Regions from separate parts of the Homo sapiens genome. Here all the other regions are linked to region 1. Evidence: promoter capture Hi-C in 16 types of primary human blood cells and fetal thymus (Javierre and others, 2016). All regions are on one chromosome and are shown on one strand. The core of a region is centred on a gene start or on the middle of the fragment in contact, and the rest is flanking DNA. Distances in the headings are between cores, read along the strand shown.

Region 1 (3,831 bases), core at 553-3,052:
GAATTATTCATTCCATGGCATTGAAAGCGCACACACGCACACTCTGAAAAGCAGATACCAGGTAAGCAACTTTAGGGCAGCTGCCGAGTAGAATATCAAGAAATTGGATCCAGCTGAGAATTCCAATTACCTAATGACCTAATGAGGGTGATCCGCTTTCACTCTAATTGCTAGGTCTAACTCGTTGTAATAGTCTTTATCATGAAAAGCAGGCTTTAAAATAATTTAAAATGGAAACAAATATTCAACGGGCCAATTTCTTTCACCTTCTTTAGGGGGAGACGGGAATTTGAATTCACAAAGAAATGCAAATGTAAAGACTTAAGATGGAGCAGAAACAAAGAACATAAGGATCACCTAGTGCATTGTGTTGGTACATCTCTTAGAAGAAGACAGCACAGGGAATTTGTGAGACACCAAATGCAATTTTTGTTAGTTTATTAGAGAGTAAATAAATAAATAATGATACCGAACTCCAACAAAACTCCAGCACTGTCCGTGGGCAGCGACTATTCAGCCCAAGCTATCATTCTTAATTTCCCTGCCAGGCTGCGACTACCGGGGTGAATCAGCCCGCGCCAGGCCCCTTTCCCACCCGCCGCTGCAGTTAGGACTTGGCAAAGATGCTCGATATTTGCGTATTTGTGACCGGTCTTTGCTTTGTGTCTGCGCTGCAGGTGAGGAGGAGGAAGAGAAGCAGAAGAGCAGCTGGAGGCCGGCGGTGGCTGAGCAGCCCCCACACCTTTGAGCGAGCCGCCTGCCTCTCCACCGGCAAGGAAGCCCTGGGACCTCCGGATTCGGGCTGCCGGAGGGCCTGAGCGCCAGAGCCCAGGACCCGGCGGCCGGGGGCGCCATCCCCTCATGTTCTGGAGAAGGCGCAAATGTGAGCTGGCGGTAGCGGGGAAAGCCCTCCGCCCCCGCCAGGGGGGACCCGGGAAGCCCGGCCGGCTCTGTCGGCAGACTGCGGGGATCCCCTCCTCCGGCCCCGCCCCCACCCACCCCCGGCCGGGGTGCCGAGGCGGTTAACCCTACCCGCGCCGCAGCGCACTTGGGCTAGAGCGCCGCGCACCCAATCCAGATTCCAGAGCCTGCCGGCTGGGAAAGATCCGGTCTCGGGGTCGGCTATGATCCCGCAGCGGCCAAGGCAGGGCTCAGGCCCCGGGATTCTCCCCACACGCTGCTGCACTGGCGCAGCCGGTCGCCAAACTTTTTCTCCCCAAAGCCAGTGCCCCCGCAGTTACTTGGCGGGCAGCCGGCAGCCCACTCTCGGCGGGATGATCTGGGAGAAGCGGGCGTGGGACGAGGGGGCTGCTGTTTTGCAGCCCTGCGAGGCGTGCAGTCGGAGAAGTGGTCGGGGTTCCACACCGTCCCTGAGCCTGCCCCCGGCCAAGGTGGCCCGACGTGCTGCAGTGGCTGGCGCAGGTGATCCGGGCAGCGCGTCCGGCACTAGTCAAGGGGGCAGCGGCACGGGAGGGAGGGGCGCCTTTCTCTTTTCTCCTCCCCCTGCAGCCCAGCTGCACTGCGTGGGGGCTCTCCATCTCCACGCAATCAGCAGGCGGAATCCCTGCCCTGGAGCGCCCTGGCTCTGGACTGCACCCCCCTAGGGTTTGTCCTGCAGATTCCCCTCCCCATCTTTCTCTGCCACACACGCTTCCCTAAGCCGCGCGCGCCGCAAACTCAGTCTCGGTCCCCGCAGGTGATGTCATGCCCATTGTTTTGGTGCGCCCAACCAATCGGACTCGCCGCCTGGATTCTACCGGAGCCGGCATGGGCCCTTCCTCGCACCAGCAGCAGGAGTCCCCGCTCCCGACCATAACGCATTGCGCAGGGTGCACCACCGCTTGGTCTCCCTGCAGCTTTAACAGCCCTGACATGGAAACCCCATTGCAGTTCCAGCGCGGCTTCTTCCCAGAGCAGCCGCCGCCGCCGCCGCGCTCCTCACACCTGCATTGCCAGCAGCAGCAACAGAGCCAGGACAAGCCGTGCCCGCCCTTCGCGCCCCTCCCGCACCCTCACCACCACCCGCACCTCGCGCACCAGCAGCCGGCCAGCGGCGGCAGCAGCCCATGCCTCCGGTGCAACAGCTGCGCCTCCTCCGGTGCCCCGGCGGCGGGGGCGGGAGATAACCTGTCCCTGCTGCTCCGCACCTCCTCGCCCGGCGGCGCCTTCCGGACCCGCACCTCCTCGCCGCTGTCGGGCTCGTCCTGCTGCTGCTGCTGCTGCTCGTCGCGCCGGGGCAGCCAGCTCAATGTGAGCGAGCTGACGCCGTCCAGCCATGCCAGTGCGCTCCGGCAGCAGTACGCGCAGCAGTCCGCGCAGCAGTCGGCGTCCGCCTCCCAGTACCACCAGTGCCACAGCCTGCAGCCCGCCGCCAGCCCCACGGGCAGCCTCGGCAGTCTGGGCTCCGGGCCCCCGCTCTCGCACCACCACCACCACCCGCACCCGGCGCACCACCAGCACCACCAGCCCCAGGCGCGCCGCGAGAGCAACCCCTTCACCGAAATAGCCATGAGCAGCTGCAGGTACAACGGGGGCGTCATGCGGCCGCTCAGCAACTTGAGCGCGTCCCGCCGGAACCTGCACGAGATGGACTCAGAGGCGCAGCCCCTGCAGCCCCCCGCGTCTGTCGGAGGAGGTGGCGGCGCGTCCTCCCCGTCTGCAGCCGCTGCCGCCGCCGCCGCTGTTTCGTCCTCAGCCCCCGAGATCGTGGTGTCTAAGCCCGAGCACAACAACTCCAACAACCTGGCGCTCTATGGAACCGGCGGCGGAGGCAGCACTGGAGGAGGCGGCGGCGGTGGCGGGAGCGGGCACGGCAGCAGCAGTGGCACCAAGTCCAGCAAAAAGAAAAACCAGAACATCGGCTACAAGCTGGGCCACCGGCGCGCCCTGTTCGAAAAGCGCAAGCGGCTCAGCGACTACGCGCTCATCTTCGGCATGTTCGGCATCGTGGTCATGGTCATCGAGACCGAGCTGTCGTGGGGCGCCTACGACAAGGTACAGGCTTGAACCCCAGCCCACGCTACCGGAGTCGGGCACTGGGTGGTTGGGATGGGCACTGGCGGGGACCCTTTGCGTGCGGATCCCTAGCCTCTCCGGGACGATCAAGGGAGCCCGCCAGGACAGCGGGCGCGTCTAGGACGCGCATCCGTAGTCAGCTAAACAACTCGGAGATGAACCCTTTCCGCGTGCAGCCAAAGTTCTCGAGGCAGTTAAGAGTGCTCAGCGCATTCGGGCACCTTAAGTAAGTGGTTCTGGAAGTCGGTGGGGAAACCATCTGTAATTCATCCCCTCGTGAATTATGTTTAGAAGGGCCCTTTCAACCCGCTCTCTTGAACTCAGAAGTAAGTTCCTCTGGTTTTGCTAGCCTGGAACAGCGGCGCTCGCTTCGGTCCTCTATGGCGTGGACCCAGCAGCCCAGCCACGCGTCTTCCCAGTCTTTCCAGGTCTACTCTCGTCTCTTTTGGTTTTGAGGCCGAGTGATCTGACAGATCACAGAGCCAAGACAGGTGCACCCCTCTCCCCTTATCTTCCTTCTGTGAGTTCAGGTCCACCTGTGGGGGACTGACTGACTCTGGGGACGTGGAAGGCGGTTAAAAGTGCTTCTTTCTTAAAAGTGCTTCTGTCTGACTGTGTTGCAGGCGTCGCTGTATTCCTTAGCTCTGAAATGCCTTATCAGTCTCTCCACGATCATCCTGCTCGGTCTGATCATCGTGTACCACGCCAGGGAAATACAGGTAACTTAGGTCCTGCTGTTTATGAATGACCCAAAGCCCTACAGTCAGCCTAGAGAAACGCAAGGCAGCAGAGGCTTTTTTCAAGCCATCATGTCCT
Region 2 (3,831 bases), core at 917-3,416, 730 kb before region 1:
AGAGTGATGTTGGTTTCTAAGCCTGTGTCAAAGGTCCATATTTTGATAAAAGCTTAGGTAAGGCTGGGTGTGGTGGGTCATGCCTGTAATCCCAGCACTTTGGGAGGCCGCCGTGGGCAGGTCACTTGAGGCTAGGAGTTGGAGATCAGCCTGGTCAACATGGTGAAACCCTGTCTCTACTAAAAAATACAAAAAAAAAAATTAGCCAGGCACGGTGGCAGGTGCCTGTAATCCCAGCTACTCAGGAGGCTGAGGCAGGAGAATCACTTGAACGCAGGAGAATCACTTGAACCCAGGAGATGGAGGTTGCAGTGAGCTAAGATTGCGCCACTGCACTCCAGTCTGGGTGTCAGAGTGAGACTCCATCTCAAAAAAAAAAAAAAAAAAAAAGAAGCTTAGTTAAGAGCTCTTACAATGGATAGCAGAGAGGTTATAGGTTATTGATGTTTGCTTTTTTTGCCTTGTTTTTGACATTCAATAGTATATACTTCTGTTTATTTAGATTCCTAATACTTAATCAACATTTGAGAAATACTTAATATTTAACAAATATTAAATCAATAATTTAAATATTCAGATTATAGAAGTTTCTGGAAAGATGATTGAATGAGAGTAAGTTTGCCTTATTCCTCTTCCTGAAACCTACAGATATGAACAAAAAGAGCCAAATAGAAAGGAAAAATTATATCTACAACAAAAGCAGCAGACAGCTAAATTCCACATCACTGACTACTGAAGAATATCTCCTAGAAGCAAGATCACTTGAACCAAATTAATTGAAGATGGATGTTCAGACCTTTCTCCTATATCCTCTGATATTGGGAAAGAAGCAAATTTCAAATCAGTGGATTAAAAAGAGTCTTACTACTAATCTTTAACCTGATGCAGTAAGGATTAACTCTATGGATGGATTAAGGAGAAACAGAGAGAACATTGACTGGGGCACCATTCGGTTTCAAAGAATGACAAGAAAGGTGATGTTAAAAGGAGATCATGTATTCCCACCGCCTTTATTGTTCACGACCTGGTCCCAGACTAGGATAACTTTCAGAATGGCAAGGGTCCTAAGAGGGTACACTCAGAACCAGTATGTTTACATAACAGAGGATTAATCAGTTTGGCAGGAAAATAATTAACATTAAGGATGCTTGCTGGCTGTTTCTGGGCTCACTCCACATTCCTACAGCTGAAAGATCAACCAGAGACCAAGGGATGAATATTGATGTAAAAATCCAAAATAATATATTAAAAAATAGGATCCCTGAAGGACATTTAAAAAGAATACCTTATGTTCAAGTGGAGTTTATCTAGTAATGCAAGGATGATTTAACTTAGGAAATAAAGGAATAGCAGAAGTTAAATGATACCACAAGAAAATAATCGACATTCTGTAAGATAACTGGTCATTTTTCTTCAGAAGTCAGTGCCATGGGACAAAAAATAGATACTTTTCTCGATAAAAGAGTCTGGAAAAATGTAACAATCAAATGTAATGCATGGCACTTGATTAAATCCTGGTTTGAGAAAAGCAAATATGAGACAGTTTTTTTAGATAATTGTAAAAATGTGAATATAAATGGGCCTTATATAATAGTAGAAAATTATTATTTATTTTAAGATATGGTAATGGTATTGTGGTTATGTAAAGATAATGTCATTTTTCTTAGAAGTTGCTAACGTATTTAGGGGTGAAGTGTTATGATGTCTGCATCTTATTTTTAAATGGTTAAAGCAAAGAAAGTAGAAAGAATATGGCAAAATGCAAATAATTTTTGAATCTAGGTAATGGATATGGGTGTTTGTTGTACTATTTTTTGTATTGTTTTTATGCTGGCCATAATTTTAAAAATTGGAGGTAAAAGAATACACTTAAATATATGAAACAATTGAAGAAGAAGTTACAAAAAGTCAAATGAGCAATGCTCAGACAACAGAAAAAAATAGAAAGGGAGCAGAGGTAATGTAAAAAAATGAGTAACAGGCCAGGCCTGGTGGCTCACGCCTGTAATCCCAGCACTTTGAGAGGCCGAGGTGGGCAGATTGCCTGAGGTCAGGAGTTCGTGACCAGCCTGGCCAACATCGTGAAATCCCATCTCTACTAAAAATAGAAAAATTAGCTGGGTGTGGTGGTGCCCACCTGTAATCCCAGCTACTCGGGAGGCTGAGTCAGGAGAATCGCTTGAACTGGGGAGACGGAGGTTGCAGTGAGCCAAGATTGTGCCACTGCACTCCAGCCTGGACGAAAAGGTGAGACTTCATCTAAAAAAAAAAAAAAAAACAAGAAACAAATGAATAAAAACGGAATCAGCAGTAGCACAAAATTTTAAAATCAACACAGCTGAAAACAGAGACCATGACATGAAATAGAATTGAAAAAATCATAGAGGATAAAGTAAAAAATAAAAAGATGAGAGCAATTAGAGAAATGATAGATACTGCTACAAAGATTGGTTACAAAGATCTAACATACATGATTAGTATTCCTAAAGAGCATAAAATATATTCTGGGGCTTCCTACCTAATTGAATTCTTTCAGGGCTCACCATGTTTAAATCTACAGTTAATATCTCAAGGTATTCAAATTTATGTAATAGACAGGGGAGCTAAGGTTTCTATGGAAAATAAAAAAAAATTAAAAAGTGAAAAACTTTAAGGAAGGCAAAATGGAGATTGTGGCAGAGGTATTTTAAAGCAAGTAGTTTTGACAGTAAAATGACCAAAAAAGAAAGTTTTAATAATTATGAAAATATGGTACTATTCAATGCTATCATGCTTTGAGGAAATGTCTGATTCCTGGTTTGGACATAAAGAAAGAGGAAGAAAGGAAATATTCTGAAGTCACTTGCTCACATGCCAGTTTCTCCAACTCTGATTATTGTTTCCCTATAGTTAATGTTAGATCTTTGTAGCATTAGTTCTTGCAAGCTAAACAATTTTTATACTAAGTAGGAAAAGGAACTGGTGAAAAAAGGCAACTTCTGTTTTCTGTATTCTGACAGGATGAAGAATTGGCTGGAGGTAAAAATCTCATTGAAAATCTTTGTCAGTGGGTGAGTTCTCTTTTTTTACTTCTAGGATTTCTGTATCCTCTTAGGATACAGAAAACAAAATTACCTACATTTCACAAAACTGTCCTGATCACACTTAGGAGTTTAGTAGGAAAAAGAAAATGGAAAGAAAAGGCTGAAAAACTATATTATCTTCACATGTACCTTTCTTACTTCTTTCTCAAGTTACCAGCTATTTCTTACTTCTTACACAGGTTACCAGCTCTTCCTTACCATTATTCCTACAGAAGTTCTGTAGACCAAATACAGGGTTCTAACTTACGGTTCTTCTATTTATTTATCTGTGTGACTTGGGAAAGTTTTGAAATATGTTCTAGTTTTGCCTTTGCAAAATGCAGATAATATGCACTTCATAAGGTTGTCGTGAGGACTAAACAAGATATCATGGAAAATATCTGGTTCAGAGTCTGGGGCAGAGAATGCCCTCAGTAATATCCTGATGTTTTTTATTCAATGATAAGAGCTCATAAGCAAGGAAATAGGATATTCCAAAAAGAATACCTCCTTGTTTGAAGGATTTAATCCATGACATCTGTTACATTACTCTATAATCTTAAAATTAGCACAGCATAGAATTCTGTGGGACATTTTGATGAATGAAAATAATTAGAAATTTTATTTTTGGTTCAAATAATGGTCCTTGAGCATATGAAAGTCTCCCTAATTCATTGGCAATGGGTTTTTAAACTCCATTGGATCTACGGCTGTGAACCTACTGTACACATCCTCTGGGCATTCTTAACAGGTTTTAACTTGGTGATAA
Region 3 (3,831 bases), core at 632-3,131, 670 kb before region 1:
GCTGGCTGGGTGCGCTGGCTCAAGCCTGTAATCCCAGCACTTTGGGAGGCTGAGGTGGGTGGATCACAAGGTCAGGATTTCGAGACCAGCCTGGCCAACATAGTGAAACCCCATCTCTACTAAAAATACAAACGACTAGCTGGGCATGGTGGCAGGCACTTGTAATCCCAGTGACAGGAGGCTGAGGCAGGAGAATCACTTGAACCTGGGAGGTGGAGGTTGCAGTGAGTCAAGATCGTGCCACTGCACTCCAGCCTGGGTGACAGAACAAGACTCTGTCTCAAAAAAAAACAAACAAACAAACAAAAAAAAACATGATAGCCTCCCAACTTGGTGTAATGTTAATGTGTGTCCTATTGTGCATGCTGGGACCATTTTCAGTGAGAGATTTATGTGGCACTGACTCAGCAAAGACTGACTTTTGTGATAAAATGAACTAATATTTATTTAGTGCTTTGCAGGTTAAAATTACTTCTCATTTATTGTCTCATTTCATCCTTACGTTAACCCAGTGAAGTAGATCCAGCAAATGTTTTTATCTTTTTTTTACCCATAAGATTAAAGAATATCGTTTGAGAATATTCTTACACTTTAATTTTTTTTTTTCCTGCAGGTGAAATGTCCAGCTGTTAAGTGAATTGGTATGGTATGGTGGCTAGTTCCAAATGAAATGGCTAAGCTTCACCCCTTTGAACACTCAACTTCTCAGGTAATACTTTGGAGGTATAACTGCATGTAGTTGGGATGTTGTAATGGTATGAGTGTTTTATGTATTGATGCTTTGTGCTTTGAACCGGTTTCTTCCAACAAGCTGTTGTGTTGCCTGCCCTTGGAATAATGCAGTTTCTTCATGAATAAGTCACATTAAACATGCACAGGAATTTTTTTTAGCAACATCAACTGTGATATTATTATAATCTTAAAGGAGGAGTGGCAATTTGTGAACAACAACTTTGGCAAAAGGCCTTGTGAAAAATTGAGAATCACTTGTTTATTATTGTTCTTTTAAATCCTCTCAAGTCTCTGCCAAAAAGAGACTTAAATATTTGTTGCATCCAGTAAATATCTGTTGAATAAATGAGTGAATGAATTATAGAAGGCAGCATTATAGATTGATTGATACACCACAGTTGAAATGGACAACAGTGTATCCTGTGCATTGACTAAACTGGACCATTGACCAATTCTTGAATGTTTCCAGCACCTTCCCACCCCATGCTTTTGGTCACTCCATTTCTTTAATCTGTAATGTCCTTTCCATCTCTGTGTATCAAAATTCTACCCAGCCATTGGACTAGATCAAAAGCTATTTTTTTCTCCATTTCTCCTGAAGCCTTTGTGGCTTTTTCCATTGCCAGAGCTGGAAATGACTATATCTCAAAAAGTTCCCATTGCTCATGTCTTTTTTGGTACTTAGTATATTTTCCTTGGAGAGCACATACATTATTATTTCCTGGTAAAGCATATGCATTATATATTTCTCTTTAGAATGTAAGTTCTCAAAGAACAGACTGTACTGTATTCATCTTTGCAACACACACACACACACACACACACACACACACACACACACACACGTATTTTAGCAGGGTGTTACATCTGCTAATTTCTCAACCTATTTTGTTGAATTAATTAGGTTATAGGGATTTAACTATTCTTTCTATATTGTAATACCTATAGTTAAAATTCTTATCCTTCATAAAATTTTTCAAAAAGGTGCTGACAAATAGGAAAAACATTGAAATTTGATTTTCTTTGACAATTTAAAGCCTCTGATAGAAATACAAACAACTAGTAGAATGGACAAGGCCTTGAGAGAATTAAGTTTTTAAAAGACACAGAGCAGATAAACTTGTTTTGATTAGTTAGGGATGAACAGAATCACTACGAGAATCATTGATACTTACTCTAAAAATCTAGTGAGCTAATATAGCATTTTTCTTCAGAGGAGGGCAAAATGTTAATTTTTTGAAGTTTTCTGCTTTGGAATTGAGCACGTGTCTCTTCAGTAGTGTCCAGATTTTTTCATAACGTTGCAAATCAAAACAACGATGTCAAAACAATCCTAGAATTATTTCTAGACCCAGTAATGGAACTGACAATAAGTATCAGGGGTTTGCCTGGGTTGGGGGTGGGGCCAGTGTGGAATGCGTTATTTCTCCCTTACTGTCATTCCAGGCAGTTGCCAATTTGGGCTGATTATTTATAGATGACTCTGCAGTGTGACAGGCAGTTCTCCAAGTGAAGCCTCAGGCAGTGAGGTCCTGAGGAAATAGGAAAGACCTGCACATTCCATAGAGCAATGGGGAAGGAACTGCGGGGCAGCCAGAAGCAGTCTTCCCCCAGAGCCCCCTCCTTGTTTTTTCCTTTTAACACAAATGTTCCCGGGGGGTTGCAAAACACTGATTCCTTTTAAAAGGTGTTATAGTAAATTCCCTAGTGGAAGCCTCCTTCCCTACAGAGACAAGCATTAGAGCCCTCAGAAATCTGGGTTACTGACTTGGAAACCAAATAATTGGGGATAAATGAATGGACGAGAGTAAAGAGGCTCCACATAAAAGGAATCCCTTCCGACAGCATCTTTCATGCTGGGGGACATTAGGATGCCAATAGACGCAGCCCATGGGTTTGGGTTGCCAGGTAACCAGGGTACCCGCAGATTTCCATTTTTACTTTATTTCCGATTCAGGAAAGCCTCGTTTCATACAGAGGAAGGGAAGAACACCTCTCCCCCACCCCGCTTATTTAGGTCTAACTAATAACATTCACCTGTTGGTAGCTAAAATGTTTCAGAGGACGCAGTTGTTTTTAAACATTTAAGCTGTTAGAAAATCAACAGGAAACATCGGGATGAAAACGGGAGGGTGGTAACGTAAAGGGCAGCGGTGTTCCTGCTTGGTATTCAGGCAGCCAGTGGAAAAACCCCACGCGTCCCCCCTGGGGTTTCTCAGTTGGCCTGAGCGCATTAATCCTGCTTCAACAATTCAAGCTCTTCTGCCTCCTTGCTGTGAATTTCCTTGCCTCTAGAAAACATTCATGACATACTGAGGAGACTCACCCCATTTGCTTGCTTTTGTTTCTTTAAAAGCTTATTGGTAACCCATTCTTTTCTAATAAAAATAATCAGCCTTTTATGTGTAATTTTGCAATGCAATAAAACCAAACAGAACATTCTCCACTCCAATCCTGTCAAGCAATATGGGGCTAAGTAGTTTTCTTCCCGTTTGATAGAAAAGCAGCCGAATTGAAGAACATCTGAAATTCAATGGAACAAAGGCTAAATAAGCCTGCAGCCCAACATGTGGTTAGAAATGATCTGTTTGGATAGTGTTTATGTCTCTTGAAAATATAGCTGGGTGTGTAAGTGTGTGAGTGTGTGTGTACTGTTGGTGTTTTGTCGTGTTTATCCATCTGGACCCTGGACAGGAAGCTTGCCAAATTGTCCCTTTAGTGCGGCAATGTGCCCTTTAGTGTGGCAATCGGGTTGAGGCTGAGCTGTTTAAGGCTTATCAGCCACAACACTAATATTTTTCTTCTAAGGCAGATAAAAGTCTAGGAAGACTTACTGGGAAGTTTCCACAATTCTGGGTGTTGAGTATGAGTGGTGCTGGAAAGACAGATCTTCAATCTGCAGTCTTTTCACACTGCCGGCCTAGGAAGTTTTTGTCTTTAAAATCTGTCATTTTTCCAAGCTCTTACGAATGAAGGCCAAAGCAAAATGAGCCTTGGTCTGGCTGACAACTGTCATTAGCACTTTGAATAATTAACCCCTGACAGATCAATGAGATGATTTTCCATCAGAAAAACTTGGACATTTAAAAGATTGAACTA

The links. The method cuts DNA at HindIII sites, captures the fragments that hold promoters and counts their contacts. A CHiCAGO score of 5 or more calls a contact.
Region 2: a contact is called between a fragment that was not itself captured here and the fragment with the promoter of KCNN2 in region 1, in 1 of 17 cell types (M2 macrophages). The highest score is 7.0, in M2 macrophages.
Region 3: a contact is called between a fragment that was not itself captured here and the fragment with the promoter of KCNN2 in region 1, in 1 of 17 cell types (endothelial precursors). The highest score is 5.7, in endothelial precursors.

What each region holds. Positions count from the first base shown.
Region 1 is chr5:114,360,268-114,364,098 of GRCh38, forward strand. KCNN2 (potassium calcium-activated channel subfamily N member 2) reads left to right here and starts at 1,803. Exons shown (of 8, transcript NM_021614.4): 1 at 1,803-2,994; 2 at 3,639-3,734. The coding sequence starts at 1,873. RefSeq lists an enhancer at 1-832 and a silencer at 871-1,080. The HindIII fragment of the contact is 13,933 bases long and covers 1-3,831 here.
Region 2 is chr5:113,630,315-113,634,145 of GRCh38, forward strand. LOC107986441 (a long non-coding RNA gene) reads left to right here and starts at 2,992. Exons shown (of 3, transcript XR_001742841.1): 1 at 2,992-3,050. The HindIII fragment of the contact is 3,549 bases long and covers 393-3,831 here.
Region 3 is chr5:113,690,446-113,694,276 of GRCh38, forward strand. It overlaps LOC107986441 (a long non-coding RNA gene), which reads left to right. Exons shown (of 3, transcript XR_001742841.1): 2 at 614-709. Among named protein-coding and RNA genes, the nearest start is that of YTHDC2, 180 kb to the left of the region's middle. The HindIII fragment of the contact is 2,409 bases long and covers 678-3,086 here.